Regions from separate parts of the Homo sapiens genome. Here region 1 is linked to region 2. The links are contacts of gene promoters, found by promoter capture Hi-C in human tissues and cell types (Jung and others, 2019). All regions are on one chromosome and are shown on one strand. Each heading gives the region's core, a stretch centred on a gene start or on the middle of the fragment in contact. The rest is flanking DNA. Distances are from core to core; before and after follow the strand shown.

The links. The method cuts DNA at HindIII sites, captures the fragments that hold promoters and counts their contacts. A contact is called where the count stands out against the background at its distance.
Region 1: a fragment that was not itself captured here is called in contact with the fragment with the promoter of EFCAB6 in region 2 in 2 of the 25 tissues and cell types used here (IMR-90 fibroblasts and dorsolateral prefrontal cortex).

Annotation. Positions count from the first base shown.
Region 1 is chr22:43,524,603-43,531,696 of GRCh38, forward strand. All of the region lies in intron 2 of EFCAB6-AS1 (EFCAB6 antisense RNA 1), which reads left to right. It overlaps EFCAB6 (EF-hand calcium binding domain 6), which reads right to left. Exons shown (of 32, transcript NM_022785.4): 31 at 6,213-6,362; 32 at 4,176-4,373. The coding sequence ends at 4,251. Among named protein-coding and RNA genes, the nearest start is that of EFCAB6-AS1, 12 kb to the left of the region's middle. RefSeq lists an enhancer at 3,091-3,590. The HindIII fragment of the contact is 6,308 bases long and covers 1-5,835 here.
Region 2 is chr22:43,808,882-43,815,665 of GRCh38, forward strand. It overlaps EFCAB6 (EF-hand calcium binding domain 6), which reads right to left and starts at 3,424. Exons shown (of 32, transcript NM_022785.4): 1 at 3,287-3,424; 2 at 114-250. EFCAB6-DT (EFCAB6 divergent transcript) reads left to right here and starts at 3,541. Exons shown (of 2, transcript NR_186822.1): 1 at 3,541-4,103. RefSeq lists a silencer at 2,946-3,187 and enhancers at 3,519-3,788, 4,030-4,831. The HindIII fragment of the contact is 13,383 bases long and covers 1-6,784 here.

The DNA.
Region 1 (7,094 bases), core at 1,432-3,931, 290 kb before region 2:
TTTGTAACTAATTTTGGAAAATCCTCAGCCATTATTTATTCAAATATTTCTTCTGCACCATGTTCTCTTTCTTTTCCTCCTGAATTATGTGCATGTTAGACTTTTTTTTTTTTTTTTTTTGACACAGAGTCTCACCGCTCTGTCACCCAGGCTGGAGTGCAGTGGTGCGATCTCGGCTCACTGTAACCTCTGCCTCCCGGGTTCAAGCAATTCTCCTGCCTCAGTCACCTGAGTAGCTGGGATTACAGGCACACACCACCATACCCCACTGATTTTTGTATTTTTAGTAGAGACGAGGTTTCACCATGTTGGTCTTGAACTCCTGACCTCATGATCTGCCCACCTCGGCCTCCCAAAGTGCTGGGATTACAGGCATGAGCCACTGTGCCCGGCCCCATATTAGACCATCTTATACTGTCCCACAGCTCTTATATATTCTGCGATTTTTCCCCACTCTTTTTCTCTCTGCATTTAGGTTTAGATACATGCTATTGACCTATCTTCAAGCTCACTCATTCTTTCCTTGGTTATGTAGAATCTACTGATGAGCGAGCCTGTCAAAGGCAATCTTCATCTTTATTACTGTGTTTTTTTTATTTCTAGCCTTTCTGATTCTTGCAGTTTTCATCTCTCTGCTGAAATTGGCTGGTCGTGTGTTGTCTTTCTTTTCCATTAGCGCTCTAACACATAAACCAGTTATTTAAACATTTTTCTAATGGTTCCAAAATCTGTCATGTCTGAGTCTGATTCTTGTGATTGCTTTGTCTTCTCAAACTGTTTTTATAATTGCCCTTGGTATACCTCAAAATTTTTTGTTGAAAGCCAGACATTTGTATAGCAGGGCCCAGCAAACTTGCTCTGTGGAGGATCAGATAGTAAATATTTTAGGCTTTGAGGTCCACATACATGCAGTCGGTTGCATTTCTTGTTCTTTTCTTCCTTCCTCTTTCTCCTCCTCCTTCTTCAACCCTTAAAAATGATGGACCCTCAAGGCTGCTGAACAGGTTCAGACTAATTGTACTGACTCAGCCTCAGGAAGTCAGGAAAGCTTCGTGGAAGAGGTGGCTTTGAGAGTTTCGAAGGAATACCCGGCATTTCCTGAGGAGTAGGTGGAAGAAACTGCTGGTGCCAAGTGCAAAGATATGTAAGAACAAGCATGGGGAAGCTGAAGTCCAGCACACAGGATGGGATCTGGGCACCCAGGTCGGGCCTCCAATGCTGAGGCAGGGCACATGGGCAGGGCATCCATCTGCCCCTCACCACTAAGCATGCAACCCTCCATCATGGTGGGGATTTTAATAGGTTACTTTGCAAATTTGGGGACACACTTTCAATTTCTGGGGTTGGAATAACAGCCGGCAGATGCCAAGCCTTCTTTCCAGAGCTCATTGAAAGCTCAGTGTCACCTGATTTGTTTTTACAGGGGAGACTGCATTTTAAAACTGTTATGTCAGAGTGTGGTGCCAGCAGTGCTGGTGGGACATGCATGGGAAGATCCAGAACTTGTTTTGCCAGAAGCTGGGAGATGTGGCCAAGAGAATGTGGGTCTGACCCCACAGCCACCTCCTAGTGCTATGGGGAGTCCAGCACTCACAGACTCCATCCACAGAGAAGCCCCCAACACCAGAGTTGCTCCCCAACTTGCCAGCACTCCCTGCAGAACCTGGTCAGCTTTCCTTCTGGGAAAGGGACCCAGAGGCTGTGCCCTGCCAGCATTAAAGCACCTGCTGTGTGCCAGGCTGGGGGCGCAGGTCAGTGTTCTCACCCTATGGGTGGAGTCTGGGCCCAGCAGTGGGTGCAGAAGGGAGTGACTCTCTCTGCCAAGCGGTGACAGCATCGAACGGGGAGCTCAGCCTCTGCCCAGGGGTTACAGGAGGATTGGAGCTGGGCCTCAGAGGAAGAGTACGCGGGCTGTGCAGATGAGAACAGAAGTAGTCCCAGAAGGAGGAGCCAGCAGGAGCCAGGGCTTGGAGGCAGGGATGTGGGCACAGGGCTGAGTGAGTCCTGGTGCTGCCTGCAGGGGAGCCTGCCCGCCCACCTTCAGGGCCTCTGACACTGGCTTGGGCTGTTACTCACTGTCTGGGCCAAATCCTGCAAGCTGTGAGACTCTGGAAAACTTCCGGTACCTCAGTTTCCTCATCTGTCAAATGGGGATGCTCACAGGAGTCTAAATGATGATGTGTGTGAAGCGCTGGGTTTGAGTCCCACACACCTGTGCTTACTGGGTGCTGGCACTGCCCTGTCCCAGCCTGAGCCCCGCACACCTGTGCTCACTGGGCGCTGATACTGCCCTGTCCCAGCCTGAGCCCCACACACCTGTGCTCACTGGGCGCTGATACTGTCCTGTACCATCCTGAGTCCTGCACACCTGTGCTCACTGGGTGCTGATACTGCCCTGTCCCAGCCTGAGTCCCGCACACCTGTGCTCACTGGCTGCTGATACTGCCCTGTCCCGGCCTGAGTCCCGCACACCTGTGCTCACTGACTGCTGGCACTGGCCTGTCCTCAGCCTGAGTCTGGCATGCCTGTGTTCACTGGGAGCTGACACTGCCCTGCCTCTGGCCGGAGTCTCAGGCTGGTGCCCCTGGCCCTCACAGGCCTTCCTTATTCTGGGCTGAAGCCTCTCTCATGGGAACATCTGCTGCCCACAGGCCCAGGTCCCACAACAAAGGTGACACAAGTGTGGTCCCACCATTTCTACAGATGAGGACGCTGAAGGGATGGGACCTGGTACAAAGTCACATGGAGGAGCAGCTGGGGTCCAGGGCGTCTCTGTCCCGTAATCACTGCATGGCCCTGTTGATGTGCCTACTCAGGGTCCCCTTCCCCTTCCCTGAACTTGGGGCTGCCTGAGCACCCCGTTCCCCCTGCAGCGGTCCAGCCTGAAATGAGGAGGAAACTAAGGACAGATGGAAACAAAGGTGACCCCAGGAAACATTTTCCAGGAAATAGAAGGCCTGCGCGGGCTGGGCGGGAGCCTGTCCTCCCAATCACACCCATCCAATGCGCGGCTCTGCCACTCAGGGAGAGATCTGCTCACCTCAGGGTGTGGCCTCATTTGGACCCTGTGCAGGGGCAGGGAAGGGCGTTTTGGTGGGCAAGGCCTGGGGCCCAGGTGGAGGGGAGGTGCTCCCCCCACACCCCATATCCTGCCTGCTGCTCCCCAGTTCCTTGGAGAACCTTCCAGAAGGTGGCAAACGCTGCCTGAGTCTCTCAGCTGAGTCACAGTCCATGAAAGCGGAGTGACGATTTTCAAACTTCTCTTGTCAAACCTGTCAGTTCCAAGGAAGGGCCCTCTCAGAACTGTCCCTGGTGGGGGTTACGGCCAGTGGCCACTAGGCTTGGGCTCAGGAAGGCGGAGGGAGGCCCAAAGCTCCAGGGGGTCTCACTCAGGCGTGAGTTGCTCTTCATGGAGTCAGGCTGGCTGGCATCCCTGAGCAAGACAGCGATGGGGCGGTCAGTGCCTGTGCCTCTAGGAGCAGAGACATGGCCACCCTGACTGCAGCAGGGGGCTCAGATGTCCTCTGATCCAGGACCCAGGAAGCTGGGGGGTCAAAGGAGGCAGCAGTCCTTGGGTAATGGGGTGCAGGGCCCCAACTGCTCTGGACTGGAGGAGACACCTGGCAGGGGCCATGAACAAAACCTCCGGAAAGTCCAAGCTTTTAAGAATGTTAGCGCAGAGGCTCATGCCTGCAATCCCAGCACTTTGGAAGGCTGAGGTGGGTGGGTCACCTGAGGTCAGGAGTTCGAGACCAGCCTGGCCAACATGGCGAAACCCTGTCTCTATTAAAAATACAAAAATTAGCCGGGTGTGGTGGGTGCCTGTAATCCCGGCTACTCGGGAGGCTGAGGCAGGAGAATTGCTTGAACCCAGGGGGCGGAGGTTGCAGTGAGCCGATAGCGCCACTTCACTCCAGCCTGGGCAAAAGAGCCAAACTCCGTGTAAAAAAAAAAGTTAGCATTAGTAATTATTTTATAGTGTCAAGAATCATTCTTGCAAAGATTATTTGTTCAGACTAACAAGTGAGGGTGCCCAAGACATAGTGGTAGCACCTGGCACCTGGAGAGCAAGCATCCTATGCCAGAACCCAGGGCAGCTGTGCCTACCCCCGACCCAGAGACAGGCGGGCTGGGCTTGGGCTTGAGTTTTGTTTTTTTTGAAAATTCATGAAACCCCCAAATTATAGGATTTTATTAGCCTTGAAACAGGCCCTGTGGCTGTCGTCCCGCTGGGCACACAGCAGGGGTGTCTACTGGAGGAATGCCCGGAGGAAGTCGTTGTAGGAGATTTTTGAAGACAGCGTCTTATCGTAATACTCCAGAATATGGAAGAACTCTTCCTCAGAGAGGTTGATGCTGTACTGTCTCAGGACCTGGAAGACAGAGAAAAGGGGCCTCTGAGGCTTGTTTGGTGCCCTAGGTTAAGGAGGCAGGCTGCCAGGAAGGGGCTGGGGGACACATCCACCTGATCCCCAACCCCACTTCCGATGTCAGCCTCCCATCTGTGCGCTCTCTCTATGCCCTCTCAACCTCTGCCCAAACAGGAAGCAGCCTCCAAGGGCAGCCCTGTGTGCATCTGGGTGTGAAACTGGAGCAGACAGGAGGTTGATCACCTTTGCCTCCCTGAGGGGCTGAAGGCTGGTCAACGTATTCAGACAAGGCTGATGATCAGAGAGGTGGGGGCTCAAGGGGAGACCTGGCCATGCAGCCCTAACTTGGGGCAGAGCCTCAGGGTGCGCCCAGGCAGGGGAGGGCAGGGCCAGTGGGTGCTGAGTGCAGAGAGTTGCTGTGATAAGACCGTAACAGAGCCTGGAGCAGAGCCTGCTGGTGGTAAACCCAATACTGACTGCCCCTTCCTCTTCAGTTATAGAACCTGACTCTCTCCCAGCTCCTCTGTATCCAGCTAACCGGGAACATGTCTCAGCCTCTCTTGCAGCTAGGTATGTTCTGGCCTGAGAAGCTAAGTAAGAATGTTATGTAGAACATCCAGGAAGCCTCCTTTAAAGGAGAGGGGCATGCCCTTTTCTCTCCTGTTTTTCCACCTGCTGCCTGGAATATGGCTGTGATGCTGGGGCTCCAGCAGCCACCTTGGATCATGAGGTGGCCTAGAGGAAGGAAGCCAGGAGTTGAGAACAGCAGAGCAAAAATGTGGTCCCTGATGATTGTCCAGCCACCACACCAGCTCTGACCTTCCTACCTCTGGACTTCTTTTATGTGGGAGTGAAATAAACTTTCACCTTAAGCTGCTATTTTCCCCGCCCCATTATGTGAAGCTGAAACAAATCCTGACAGACCCTCATAGTATATAAAGATGAGGCCATACATTTCCTATCCACATTTGCGTTATAACTTGTTTCTAGGAGGAGACTGGAAAGCAGGGCTAGATGGCCCAGAGGTCCTATGGGGCTGAGGTCAGCAGGCCTGGCCATTGGGCCCCATGGGATGAAGGCAGAAAAGGAAGCTGAGCCTGGTGTCTGAGACGGCCCCTCAATTACGCCATCTGATCTGTGACTCTGTGGAGGGCAAGGTTTCTTTTGCCACCTTCCCAGCACCACGCCCGAATTCCTGGGAAGTTGCCGGAAGGGAATAACAGAACCTGCCCTACTTCCTTCCTTTCTTTGCATGAGGGATAGGGAGAATCCCTGACTGAGATTTATACTTAACCCCGAAGGAAAGAGGAACGTGAATGTGGATTGGAAAACCACTGCGGGGTGTTTGTTAGGCTCTGGGGGTGGGACATGGAGGGCACCCAGGGACATCAGGGCAGATGCCCAATGGTGGAGCCCCGCTGTGTACTGCAGGGGCAGGGCTCACTTTGCAGGCCCCTTGGAAGGTCCAACATAGGTCAGAGATGCTCTTCAGAGCCTGCAGGAGAGCCCAGGTGTGGGGAGAGGGCTCGGAGCAGCAGCAGCAGTGATGGCAGTGCCTTAAGGAACCTGGGCTCAGGCACTGACCCTGAGGAGCTGGCGATGCAGGTATGGGGCATCCACGCAGGGCTCCAGCAACCTTTGGGAAGGAGAACCCGGGGTCTGAAGGTGAGGCGAGTGGACCCAGGACTGGATAACTTGGGGGTCCCAGGGAAGTGAGATCTGAAGCAGCCAGGTCACACCGGGCCTTCGGCAGCAGGTAGAGGGCTCCCCGTGGGAAGTTTCTGGCCGCTGGCATTTGGCAGCTGCTCCCTGCAGAGGCACTGGGCGCAGAGCTGTGCTCACCGTCCTGAAATCTGCGACGCTTAGCAGCCCTGTTCCAGCCTCATCATAGCTTTTGAACGTGCGCCGCATTGGCCTCCAGCAGTGCACAATTTTGGGCTGAATACGCAGCAGAGCAGAGTAAAAAGATGGCGTCTCCGCGCCGGCTTCTTTCTAGACACAAGACAAGAAGGGGTGAGGAGGGAGCTTTTGAACACGAGGGTTGGGGTGGGCTCCTCCTCGCCTCGCCCCCGCCTCGCCCAGCCCTGCTCCGGCTTCACCTCCCAACCTGCTCCGCTGGCTCTGAATCGAGGAGGGAGCCTGCCAGAACTCGTCACAAAGATGCGCACCCGCCCCCTGACCATTGTGTGGGCTGTTTAAAAACGTGTATTACATCAGCCATCTCATTTACACCTCCCCACTGGCAACCCGGAAAGAAGGCAGGTCTCTATCCCCACTTCACAGATTAGGAAGTGGAGACTCGGGGAGGTAAAGTGACTTGGGCTTTGACCCCAACACACTTCAGGCCACACCACCTCCCAGGGAATGCAACGAGATGGCCGGGCAGATATGGGCCAATTTGAAAATAGTTTGAGGAAAAAAAGAGATTTCAGTCTGTGTTTTCTAGTAAGTTATTATAATGAACAGTGTTAAAAAAAATTCACAAGGTTGTAATTATATCTAGTAATTAGAACACTACACTGTGATTACTTCATTTAGGTGCTATTAGATTGAAAACAAGACATTTGAACATGATTTAGCCCCAATGTGTTTGAATATCACAAAGGTGAACGGTAGGCAACAATGCGTAACACATCTTGGGAAAGTTGAATTTTAACATAACACTATGTAAGACAGATGAGCACAGGGTTAAGCTGCTTTCATTTTTTTTTTACATCATTTGGC
Region 2 (6,784 bases), core at 2,174-4,673:
TTGCTAAGTAAATGAGCAAACAAATGACTGAAACCAACCCAGGATGCAGGATAACACCATTTACAACGTCCCAGGGGAAAAACTACATTCAGAAGGTGTTATCGAAAACTTACTATTCAGAAATCTTCAATCTCAAATATTCAGTTCAAATGCTAAAGTCCACATTCTCTCCCTGAAGAGTGAGGACATTAAGCCCACACTTTTGTCATTGGGCAGTAATCTAGGCCCTTCCAATCCTCTGCGATGAGCCCTGTGAGAAATTTATTTTAGAAACAGGTTAGACCTATTTTTCCAGATGAATCAAAAGGCCTTATTTCCCTGGAAAAAAAAATAAATTTTATTACCTTCTATTTTTTTACTTTTATTTTTCCATGAGTTGACAAGAAGCTCCCAGCTAAATTTCCAGCCCAACTTTATTAACCGTTATAGATGATCTGAGTATTCCTTCTTTCTGATACCTTCCTATTCTGTCTATATTTTTAATGATTCTGATTTACATGTTTCTATTTTATCACATTGTAGTTATTCTTACAAGTCATCTCAAAGCCTTGGCAGGACTTGTAGAGTATATAAGTGTTTGAGAGTGATAGCATACTCATCAAGAACACAGGTTATTATCAGGCAGTCCTGGAGTTGGAGCCATACTCACTACCATTTATCAGCTTTGTTAAGTCCCTTAACCTCTCTGTGTCCCTGTTGCCTTTTGTTTTGTTTTTTTGTTTGGTTTTGGTTTTGTCTGTTTTGAGATGGAGTTTTACTCTTGTTGCCTAGGCTGGAGTGCAATGGTGTGACCTCGGCTCACTGCAACCTCCACCTCCCAGGTTCAAGAGATTCTCCTGCCTCAGCTTCTGGAGTAGCTGGGATTACAGGTGCCTGCCACCATGCCTGGCTAATTTTTTGTATTAGTAGAGATAGGGTCTCACCACGTTGGCCAGACTGGTCTCGAACTCCTGACCTCAGGTGATCCAACCGCCTCGGCCTCCCAAAGTGCTGGGATTACAGGCATGAGCCACCGCGCACAGCCTGTTTTGTTTTTTGAGACAGGGTCTCATTCTGTCGCCCAGGCTGGAGTACAGTGGCATTATCATGGCTCACTGCAACCTAAAACTCTTGGGTTCAAGTGATCCTCCCATCTCGGCCTCCTGAGTAGCTGGAAGTACAGGCACATGCCACCATAGATATGGGGGGGGTCTGACTTTGTTGCCTGGGCTGGTCTCGAACTCCTGGCCTCAAGCGATCCTCCTGCCTCAGCCTCCCAAAGTGGTAGGATTACAGGCATAAGCCACCACACCCAACTTGTACTTTTCCATAGCCAACTTGTGAGGACTAAATTTAAAAAGTATGAGGGACCAAACTGTGCTTGGCACACAGTAAGTGTTCAATTAGTATTAGCCAGTAGTAGTATTAGTAGTTGCTGTAGTAGAAATAGAAGTAGTAAAACTGTGGACAAATAGATGGAAAGAAAAAGTAACAAATGGTACCTGAAACAAAGTAAACAAAATAGCAGTGAAAGATCAAAACCAAAAGTAGAAAATGAAGCTTTTAATACTGAAAGGGTATCATATTCATGTTATCTCTATTCACAGTTTTCTCAAACCTGTCTCAGTTGTTAACAACTGCCTTGTTAACAACCAGTGGCCTCTCACCAGATTCCTGATCTGGGCAGGCACCAGGCTACTAAACATCCTCATGGAGCTGGTTCTGTCTCCAGGTGCCAGTCAGCTGCAGAGATCAGAGCATGGGTGCTATAGAGATCTCTGTACAAGGGGAAGAGGTAGATAGCTGGAACAGGGCAGTTTTTCCCTGGAGAGCGAAATTTACAGTCTCAGGTAAGCACTTCTTGATAAATATCTATGATCACCTATCATGAACCAAGCATTAAAATAAGCATAGAGGAAAAAGGGAAAGCACAGATAACTAAAATAAAATCCTCATCCTCAAAGGATCTTGCAATAAGACTGGATAGGAGGCAAATATCTTCACATATAATCAAAGGGGCCATTTCTGACTCACTTTCATATCCCCAGAACTTAGCCAAGTAAACGTTTGCTGAATTGAAGGCAATGGATAAAAGACATGAACTGTAGTGTATGAAAGTAGAATTGATTTACAGCATTTCTGTTAAGGCCACCCATTTAGGAACACATATTAAATTAGGCCAAGGCGGGCGGATGGATCACTTGAGGTCAGGAGTTTGAAACCAACCTGGCCAACATGGTGAAATCCCGTCTGTACTAAAAATACAAAAATTAGCTGGGCGTGGTGGCAGGCGCCTGTAATCCCAGCTACTTGGGACACCGAGGCACGAGAATCGCTTGAACCCGGGAGGTGGAGGTTGCAGTGAGCTGGGATCGCTGCACTCCAGCCTGGGTGACAGAGGAAGACTCCATCAGGAAAGAAAAGGAGAGGCGAGGGGAGGGAAGGGGAGGGGAGCGGAGGGGAAGGGGAGGGGAGGAGAGAGGAGGGGAGGAAGGGAAGAAAGGGGAAGGGAAGGGAGGGGAGGGGAGGGAGAAAAGAAAAGAAAAGAAAAAAGAAAAGAAAAGAAGAGTCCTCTTAACAGGGGCAAGACATCCTGAAAGGCAAAGATTTGGAGAGAAAGGAAGGGAGTAGAGAGAGGGGTGATTTGGACAACCTTCAAGTAAGCCCTATACAGATGTATACCTCACAAAGTGCTTCCAAACAAAATTTCTGAGGGAGGCAGGGGTAATTATGTGCAGGCTGTGGGAGAAGAGTGTAAAAGAGCAGAGATTTTGCCGTGATACAGAAATGAGTTTGAATTCTGGCTCAGAAACTTCCTAAGATAGTTGTGTGACTTTGGAAAAGCCCCTTCACCCCACAGGTTTCAAGTCCTCGTCTGTCTACAGGAGGGAGTCAATCATGACATTCACAAGACTGCTGTGGGCACAAATGAAATCAGGGGCATGAGACATGTTGTAAACTGGAGAGATTTAGGGCGTTTCCACACACATTTCCCAGCTGATTCTCACAGAGAGGCAGGGAAGAAGACGTCACCACCGTCAGCGTTGTTTATCGTTCTTCTCCACATATCAGGTAAGCTACGGGAACAGGGGCCCTACTGTTCCCCACAGGGCCCCAGGGCCTACAACATGCCTGGCACAAGCAGACGCGCCATGAACACCTGAATAAACGAATCACCACCCCTTCGTCCCTGGGGGTGGGCAGCAGCGCCGGCCTTCTCAGGGCAGTGAGACCCACGGAGCTGCCCGCCCGCCCGGCCCCTCCTCGGCCTGTCGCACGCGCGTGGCCACCCCGAATACAGCCTTACCGGGAACCCCTCCTCGATTCTCCGCCTAGCTGGGCCGGCACCCGCGTGCGCGGACCCCAAGCCGCGGGGTCTCAGAGGGGCTGCCCATTCGGCGTCTCTAGGACGCTGTTGCCCGAGAGACGACGGCAGTCGCTGACTGGAGAATGAGCCTACGCGCCTGGCAAGAAGCTGAGCTGTGATTGGTCAATTGGAGATAAACGAGGAGGGGGCGGGGCCAGGTCAGTCCCGCGCCTCCGCTCCCGGAAGAAATTTCCGCCGGAAGTCCCGTTCTCTGGGGAGCGGGAACCCTGGCGACCCGTGTCATGGGAGCGGGTTTCTGTTACGTGGGCTTTAGCGCGAGCTGGGCGGTCGGCCCGGTCCCACCGAACTGCATAGGGCCGTGTAGCCGGGGGAAGTCAGCCCCCTGCTCTGAGAAGCAGACTCTGCATCTGTAAAAGGCTAAGCGTGCCCACTGGGGCCTGTGGTCAGGATTGGCTGCAGTGAGGTCCGCAAAGCCCCTACCGCATCCTGCGCCTTCGTTAGGGTGAGCAGTCATGGGGACTCGCATTGTGCCACCACGTAGCGGGTCTCACTGGGTCCGCTTGTCTGCTCGAGGAGACAGCCGGTGAGGACGGGAGCTGGCCTGCTTTGCCCAGGCTGTAACCTCAGCCTCCGCCCATACCCACAGTAAGCATCCATTCCATTGATATTCGCTAAATGAGTGAATTATTACTAAGACAGAGGGCCGAGTGGAAGCGCCATAAATCACGTGAGTGAATGTAATTGTTGTCGCTGACCCTATGGAGCACTTCCCTTGCCAGGCACTCACCCATCCTAGGTATGTACTTTACATGTAATTGTCATCTTCATTTGTCTTCACAACAACCCTGTGAGGTGGGTGCTGTGGTTACTCCCATTTTACAGATAGGTAACTGAGGCACACAGAGCATTTTGTTCAAGGACACACTGCCAGTCAGGGGTAGGAGCAGAATGAGAACCTATGGAGCTTGCTCTTAGGCACCCTGCCACACTGCTCACTGTGGGAGAGAAGCAGCCAGGCAGACGTGTGCAGCTTGGAATTCCTTGCACACATGGCTGCGGCAGGTCAATTAGGTGCCCTGGTGTGTGCTGCAAAGATGGATACTATGCGGTCCCTGCTGGGCACTCTGACTACTTCACTGGGCAGCTAGTTTTCCTGTTCACCAAGAGAATTCTTTCCCATGGCTTGTCTCAGACCTCCCGCACTCACTACTTCCTCACCGGACTCAATGACCATGGGTCTTATCCCATTGAGAAAATGTAATGCATAAGAATGGAATGCACTCCTTCACAATCACTTTGGCATTCATCGCCTCTTTTCCTCTTGCCCCAAAAGAGGGTCTCTTACAGAGGCCAGTCCCTCTAACTGTGTCCTGGATCCCTCCCCATTTGCCTTCTTTATTATAGGCAGTGCTCTAAGTGTGGTCTGGGAATCCCTGGGGATCCTGAGACCCTTTCAGACTGTCCATGGGGCCAAAAAATACTTTCATAACACTTAAGACTTTACTTGCTTTTTCATTGTTTTTCTCTCATAAGTATATGGGGGGATTTTCCAGAAGCTACATGATGTGTGATATTGCAACAAATTGAATGCAAAAGAAGGTAAGAGATCCAGCGGTCTTGTACTAAGCCAGATGTTAAAGAGATCTGCAAAAATAGAAAACTGCCCCTCTTTTCACTTTTTTGGAAAGTGTAATTTTTCATTAGAGAACGTTAACATCTAATGGGTTTATTATTTTTAATGAGTTAATAAATTTTTTATCAATTGTATTTTCTAACATGGTAAATATTGATAGATATAAACATAAATAAAAGTTTTTTGGGATCCTCAATACTTTTTAAGAGTGTGAATGGATCCTGAGGCCAAAAAGTTTGGTCCTGAGATCAAAAGGGCTTCAGTTATTCCCTCTCTCATGATAGCCAAGAGTCTCATTCTTTCTCTTTCTCTCTTTCCCTCCTTCTTGGAACATGCTCTAGTATCTCACATCTTTAAAAAAAAAATAGATGATCTTCTGGTTTCCACCCCATTTCTCTGCTCCTCTTTAACCTGCTTCTCAGTAGAGCTGTCTATACATGCTGTCTTTCAGTTACCAAATTTCACAGAAGCGTGACTCTCATTGCCTGGTAACTGGCATTCTCACAAATACTTCTTCTCTACTTGGCCGTACATTACTTGACCTCTCAGTAGCATTCAGCCCAGTTGATCACTCCTTTCTGCCTGAAATACTTCAGGCTTCTCTAATACCACACCAACTACTCAATTCTTGGGCCCCACTGGTGACTTCCCTCCTCTGTGTGGCCTTTGGATGTTAGGGCCCCTCTGACCCTGTCGTAGGTCCTGCTGTTATGCTTCTCACCAGCCTTGACCCCTCTACTGGAATGTACTGGAGATCACTCAGACTTAAGCCATCCATATTGCCCTTGATCCACTCACCTCCCTCACTCACCTATTACTTTTTTTTTTTTTTCGAGACGGAGTCTTGCTCTGTCGCCTAGACTGGAGTGCAATGGTGCGATCTCGACTCAGTGCAACCTCCACCTCCCAGGTTTCAGCAATTCTCTGCCTCAGCCTCCCGAGTAGCTGGGATTACAGGCGTGAGCCACCATGCCCAGCTGATTTTTGTATTTTTAGTAGAGACAGGGTTTCACCATGTTGGCCAGGCTCGTCTTGAACTCCTGACCTCGTGATCCGCCTGCCTCGGCCTCCCAAAGTGCTGGGATTACAGGTGTGAGCTACTGTGCCTGCCCGCACTCACCTATTCCAAAGCAATGCTCAAACTAGGAAGCCTTGTTGTTACCCTCAATGATCACTACCTCATACCCCATATCTAGTGCTTCAGCAAGTCTTGTCGATTCTAACACCAGAATACGTACATGGTAGCAATCTCATCCATTCTCTCCAAGTTCCCCTGCACTACCTTGCCTTAAAAGCCTTCTTATGCTAAAAATAAAAATCTTTAAAACAGCATGCAGGGCCACTGGGACCATCCTACAACCTCAACCTCATTCTCCCCCCAGGATCGCTATGGTCACAAAGCCCAGAAGCCAGCTTGAATGGGGCTCCTGCTGGCCAGAATAATGAAGGACAGTAAAAGAAATAGGAGTCATGAGTCCAGGCCCAGGAGCGATGGACAGATAGAATAAATGCAGGACAAGGGAGGGCACGTGCTTGCAGTAGCAGGCCTAGGGACAAATGGTCATGCAGGAGGACTAGAGCTGAAAAGCCATCATGTTGCAACCACTGAGTGAAGATTGATTCAGGCAAGGATCATTCACGGGTGCTTCATCTCGGGGTTCTTTGGATGGGGAGCAGGATATTTGCATTGTTTTAAAGGATAGTCCCACAGATCACTTATTACTTACAGGAGAAAAAGTAGTCATAATACAAAAGAAAAATGGACAATGCTTGGATACCATAATAAAAATTAACACTACCAACAAGGAGCATGGACATTGTGTGGCTTCAGATGTAATGTGAAG